Linked DNA regions of Homo sapiens: region 2 is linked to region 1. The links are contacts of gene promoters, found by promoter capture Hi-C in human tissues and cell types (Jung and others, 2019). All regions are on one chromosome and are shown on one strand. Each heading gives the region's core, a stretch centred on a gene start or on the middle of the fragment in contact. The rest is flanking DNA. Distances are from core to core; before and after follow the strand shown. Region 1 holds the start of TMEM45B (transmembrane protein 45B). Region 2 overlaps NFRKB (nuclear factor related to kappaB binding protein).

What was found. Contacts are between HindIII fragments. The study calls those that stand out against the background at their distance.
Region 2: a contact is called between a fragment that was not itself captured here and the fragment with the promoter of TMEM45B in region 1, in 2 of the 25 tissues and cell types used here (liver and thymus).

Annotation. Positions count from the first base shown.
Region 1 is chr11:129,814,053-129,817,288 of GRCh38, forward strand. TMEM45B (transmembrane protein 45B) reads left to right here and starts at 1,796. Exons shown (of 6, transcript NM_138788.5): 1 at 1,796-1,846. LOC124902793 (a long non-coding RNA gene) reads right to left here and starts at 635. Exons shown (of 2, transcript XR_007062952.1): 1 at 1-635. The HindIII fragment of the contact is 7,942 bases long and covers 1-3,236 here.
Region 2 is chr11:129,878,046-129,881,170 of GRCh38, forward strand. It overlaps NFRKB (nuclear factor related to kappaB binding protein), which reads right to left. Exons shown (of 27, transcript NM_001143835.2): 14 at 419-498; 15 at 264-310. Among named protein-coding and RNA genes, the nearest start is that of NFRKB, 16 kb to the right of the region's middle. The HindIII fragment of the contact is 5,602 bases long and covers 1-3,125 here.

The sequences.
Region 1 (3,236 bases), core at 546-3,045:
AGAACCATTCCACGAAGCTGTGTATCCGGAATTGGTTCCCTCTGAAGAGTTCCTGGTCCCGGTCCTGCCGCGGACCTTCACGGCATTATAGTTCTTAAACATGGTGTGTCCGGAGTTTGTTCCTTCAAATGTTCAGGTGTGTCCGAAGTTTTTTCTTTCTAGAGAGTTCGTGGTCTATGCACGACTTGATGAGTGAGGCCGCGGACCTTCGCAGGGAGTGTTACAGCTCTTAAAGGTGGCGCATCCGCGTTGTTCCTTCCTCCCAGCGGGTTCGTAGTTTCGCCGACCTCAGGAGTGAAGCCACAGACCTTCGCAGGGAGTGTTACACCTCTTAAAAGTGGTGCGTCTGGAGTTGTTTGCTCCTCCCTGTGGGTTCGTGGTGTCGCTGACTTCAGGAGTGAAGCCACAGACCTTCACAGTGAGTGTTATGGCTCTTAAAGGTGGCGGCTCCAGAGTTGTTTCTTGTGGTGGCTTCCTGGTCTCGCTGGTTTACAGGAGTGAACCTGCAGACCTTCACTGTGAGTGTTAAAGCTCATAAAGGTAGTGTGGACCTAAAAGGTGAGCAACAGCAAAATTTATTGCAAAGAGCGAAACAACAAAACCCCAACACCATCGAAGGGGACCCAAACGCAGCTGCCGCTGGCTCGGATGGCCAGCTTTTATTCCCTCATTGGCCCCGCCCACATCCTCCTGATTGGTCCTGCCCACATCCTCCTGATTGGTCCATTTTACAGAGCGCTGATTGGTCCATTTTACAGAGTGCTGATTGGTCCATTTTACAGAGTGCTGATTGGTCCGTTTTTACAGAGTGCTGATTGATGTGTTTACAAACCTTTAGCTAGACATAGAGCATTGATTGGTGCATTTACAATCCTTTGGCTAGAGAGAAAAGTTCTCCAAGTCCCCACCAATTAGCTGGACACAGAGCACTGATTGGTGCATTTTTACAGAGTGCTGATTGGTGTGTTTACAAACCTTTAGCTAGACACAGAGTGCAGATTGATGCTTTTACAATCCTTTAGCTAGACAGAAAAGTTCTCCAAGTCCCCATCCGACCCAGAAGCCCAGCGGGTTTCACCTCTCAGTAGCTTACAGAAGAGGACCCTGCTGCCACAGCACAATACCACAAAGAAAGTCATGCTCTCCTCAGCAGGTAGCCCCCTTCTCCGGGACAGGAACTTTGTTTCCTTCTTAGCTCTATCGCCAGCACCTAGAACAGTGCCCACCTGTCAGATCTGTTATCAGATGGGAACATGGCAGATTTGTTGAATGAATGAAGGAATGAATGAACTATGTGACACTCAAACTTAGCCACCAAACTTAAACTAAAAAAACTGGGTTGTGGTCCCTGATGGACCGTTGGCACCTTCTTCCTTTGCTGGACGGTGATCCGTGGCTGTTTCTGCGGTGTGTTCGCAGTGGTTGCCTGGCTTGGTAACAAACACTCTTCGGAGCCACAGCCTGTTCTCAGGGTCCTCGCCGCCTCCCAGGCCCTGCGATCTCTTTGCATCTCAGGAGGTCCAGGTTGGTTGCAGTCCTCTTGGGTGACTCAGGAACCAGCCTCTCCTGAAGCACACAGCTTAGGGAGTTCCTGAGGCCAGAGACATCTCCACGGGAAAGTCAAAGGCCTGGAGGAAGTGCGGACCTGACGACAGATGCCCCGCACGCTGGCCGGGACCGGGAAGGGCGGTCAAGGGTGGAAAGGGGCTGGCGGCTGCCAGGCCTGGCGGAGTGGAGCGGGGCGGGGCGCAGCGGGGCGGGGCGGGCCTGGAGCTGCACCTGCTTCTGGGCGGACGCACTTGGCGCGCGGCGCGGGCTGCAGACGGCTGCGAGGCGCTGGGCACAGGTCAGACGTCCGTACCCGCAGGGGGCTCGAACCTGGAGGAGGGCTCGAAGGGAGAGGGGGCCCCGCCAAGGAGCGGGGCTGTGATGGAGAGGAGGTTCCGACTCGCAGGGGACCTGCGGGGGAGGGGACGCGGACAGGGAGGGGCTCTGGGACAGGGGTGAAGGCTGCGCTAGGGGAGGACGGGAGGGGATGGAGGGCCCTGGTGTCGCGGAAGCCCAGCTGGGGCCCCCTCCGGGCTGCGGAACCGGTGCGCACACTACTCCCACCGCCCCCGAGTGCCTCTGTCCGGCTGGCCGCGGCCCTGGAACGAATATTGCTCAGTCCCCCGCGAGTCAGGTCTGCCGCGTTGCCCGGTGAGGGGAAGGTGTGAAGCCCCGGGCCTCCGTCTGCCCGGTGAGTCCGGGGACGCGCGCCCCCGGGGATGCCATCTGGCTCCTGGGCTGTGACCAGTCACAGCTCACATAGCTCTGGGCACTGGTACCGACTGCCTTTCCTTGTTAGCTGCGATACACAAATACACGAGCCAGATCCTTTCCTGAGGCCAGGAAGCCTGGAATCTAATAACACCGGGCGGTGGATAAAGTCCCCCGAGCCAGTGCTTAGCTTCCGTTAATGGAGCCATGGATGGAAGCGGATGTCAGGCGCAGTGGGGGAGAAATTTGCGGGGGTGGCCCTGTCTAGGGCCAGAGAAACAACCTCTGAAGCTTTGATCCAGCCCTAGAGGGAAGAAAGATGTGAGTTTCAGCCAGGGAAACGTAGCACTTTAAGAAATAGAAACCCTTTCAAAATTTGAGGGCAGGTAGCTCTCCTAAAAGTTGCAGAAATGGCCACTTCTTTTTTTTTTTTTTTTTTTTTTTGAGACGGAGTCTCGCTCTGTCGCCCAGGCTGGAGTGCAGTGGCGCAATCTCGGATCACTGCAAGCTCCACCTCCCGGGTTCACACCATTCTCCTGCCTCAGCCTCCCGAGTAGCTAGGACTACTGGCGCCCGCCACCACGCCCGGCTAATTTTTTGTATTTTTTTTTTTTTTGGTAGAGACGGGGTTTCACCGTGTTAGCCAGGATGGTCTCGATCTCCTGACCTCATGATCCACCCGCCTCAGCCTCCCAAAGTGCTGGGATTACAGGCGTGAACCACCGCGCCCAGCTAGAAATGGCCACTTCTTTCACGTTCTCTTCGACCGCTTTCTGCGGTGTCTGCCCTTTTCCTCCTCCTGCACCTTTTTGTCTCCTAGGGTCGCATAGCCTTCCAAACAGGCCTGCCTACAGCATTTTACCTGCAATTTTACACTCATTTTAATAGAAAGGATGGCTTATTGTTCATGAGAGACGTGTACTGTTTTTAACCAGATGTGTAATATCTTCAGTATAACCTGGATGTTGTGCAGTGGG
Region 2 (3,125 bases), core at 499-2,998, 64 kb after region 1:
ACATTAAAAAAGTATGTCCACCTACAAAGCAGGTCATATGCCCCTTAGAGGCTCTCCTGCCGTCCCCTCTCTCCACCACAGCCCCTTCCACAAGGAGTCCCGTTCACTCAGGGGGTGCGGCCAAGTCAGGAAGAACCAGGGGACTCCTCAGAGCTCTGAAGCCCATTACAGCTCTAGCATACCAAGAAGTATTAACAAAACCAAGGCAGTATCTGAACTACAGTTTCCCAGGACACCACCCACCACTACAGTATTGTACTCACACCCGAGGGACAGGTGTTGTGGCATCTGAGCTGTCTTCATTTTCTTGCTGGAGAAAAAGAAAACGTTGACAGGTAAATGGACTAAAGAATTTGGGCAAACTTAAGAGCTCTGGAAACCCAGTGAGAAGGATCTGGTATTTCTTAAAAAAACATACCTTACAGAAGGCCTGATCTTTGGTCTCTAGCCATAGCTGGAAGAGGGCAGCTAATTCCTTTTCATTATCTTGGGATTGGCCTATTAGAGGAATAAAGAGATAAAAAAATAAGAAGGTCTAAGGTATTATTGAGAATCCTGCTTTCTCTTTACTAGCTGTAACTACAACACAGAGAGATTCTATCAGGAGCTGTAGCAACAATCCTTCACACATCCACTGCCTTCCAGCTGGCGGAAGTCAGCCTGGACCACCACTCTTGGATGCCACCTAATGAAATCATTCACTCCGTAGGCATTCGCTGAGTATCCACTGTGCCACGCACTGCATGTGACGCTAAGGTTACTCGGTGAATTCAGTCCCCACCCTCATGGGAGTTTATAGTCAAGTGAGGAAAGAGCACATATTTTAAAATCAATTCAAAAAGTGGTAAGCATCACAAAGGATGTCATCATAGCTTATACCAAGGTAATTATTCTATTTTTGTAGGTAAGAAAGGCTTCTGGCTAGTGGGGCACAGAGAAAATTCTATTCACTAGCATAGCAGTTAAGACCCAGGGGCAGGAAAAAGCTTGACTTTCCACAACCCGCCTAGAAAGAGATAAGCCCTGTCTCCTGTGCCCTCTTCTCAGGTCACTCTGTTCAGGCTGTCTGAGACCCTGATGGCACCTGTGTCTCCTGCCCAGCATAGAAGCCACAGGACCATCATCGGCCAGGTCTGCTTATGTGATGAATGCAGCTACCCTTCTCAAAGGGGCTGTTTACCTTTGTTTTCATGGTCAATACACAATATCACTATTTGCAGAAACCTCCCAACAATGGCAGAGTAGCTTCAACTAAAGCATCTGGCCGACAAGCTTCAAACGCTTATTATCTGGCCCTACAAGAAACATTCTGCCAGGCCCAGGTATATGTGCTCCCTCCATGGCTACTGCAGCCTGACAGATGGGGGGAGTGCTTGCAGTCAGCTACCATCATCACCTTCAGCTCACGGTGGCTTCGCCTCCACCGTTCCACTAGAGAATCACGCTCACTGAAAAATTCACAACTTCCTCCATGTTTGCAAATCTTTAGTCTTTATCTTACTGAATCTTTTAGGAACTATGGAGGCAAATGACCACTCCCCACTTCTCAGGCGATCCGGTCTCCTGGCTCCCAAGACTCAGGAAAACCCTGCTCCAGGCTTTCCCCATCTCTATAGTCAACCCCTGCCCCCGCACTCTCATGCTGTCACTCAGCCCCTCTGCCGTGAAGAGCCCTCCTCGGCCCTCTCTCCTCACTCTGTGCTTCCTCCTCAGGTAACAGCATCATCTGTGCCCTGCACCACACACATGCCAACACTCTCCCCCTTAAACTCTCTGGTCTGAATTCTAAACCCACACATCCTACTGTCTATTCAACAACTCCACTGAAATACCTCAAATGCAGCTCTAAAACTAAAGTCAGGCTGGGTGCAGTGGCTCACACCTGTAATCCAGCACTTTGGGAGGCCAAAGCAGGTGGATCACCTGGGCTCAGGAGTTCAAGACTAGCCTGGACAACATGGGGAAACCTTGTCTCTACTAAAGATACAAAAAACAGCCAGGCATGGTTGCGTACGCCTGTGGTCCCAGCTACTCAGGAGTAGGAGGAGGCAGGAGAATTGCTTGAGCCCGGGAGGCAGATGTTGCAGTGAGCCAAGATCGTGCCACTGTACTCCAGCCTGGGGACAGAGCAAGACTCTGTCTCAAAAAATAAATGAATAAATAAATAAATTTTAAAAACTAAACTCGGGATCTCCACCCTCCAAGTCCAGTCCTCCACAGCTGCTACCTGCACAAACAACACCTTCCTCCACCAGCTGCAAATCTAACAGGAGCCATGCCTCACACCATTCTCCTTCATTCCCCACAGCCAAGCCATAACCAAGCCCACCTAAGTCTTTCTCAAACGTATCCATCCTCTCTCCCTGTGTCTAAATTACCGTCAGCTCTCACAGCCCGTGGGTTGTGTGGCTGTTTTAGATCAAATCTTCCCCATGGAAAGGTTCTACCTCCTCCATCTCAAATGCTGCTGCCTCCCCTCTGCCTGTCTGGCTCAGTGCTATTCATCATACACCTCTGCTCAGATGCTGCTTCCTCAGGAAGGTCCTCCAAACTCTGCAAACTACATCAATTCCTATTATCATAAACCCCCATCCTCTCTGGTACTTTTCCTTCACAGAAAGGATCATTTTGTCATTAAATCTAAGTAAGTATTTCTTCCCCAAACAGACCTTAGGCCCTACGAGAGGAGCACACTGTCTCAGAAGCCATTGTGTCCCCCAGCACCTAACAGTGCCTGACACCCAGAAGCTGAATAAATGTAATAAATAACGAATGAATGAGTCTACCGTTTTCATAACCTGCTCTCCATACGCTTCTCCACAGACCACTCAGCACAGAGAAGTGCCTGTGAATTTCAAGAAGAAACCAACACTGGATTTCTCTCTTTTCACCATCACCAGGTAACAGCCTCCAAGTGACTTCAGATGCATGTTATGACAACTTACACACTAAGTGGGCTTTATAAACTTAAAAATAACAACCCTGTTCTTTAGAAACAACTTATTCGGGGCTGCTGCACACTCTCCTCAATAGCAAAGCCCATTTTTAGGAAAGAAAAAATTTATATTACAAATTAATCCAAAGTCATCTGTATGATTAATATAAATGTCGATGCTCTTGCAAAA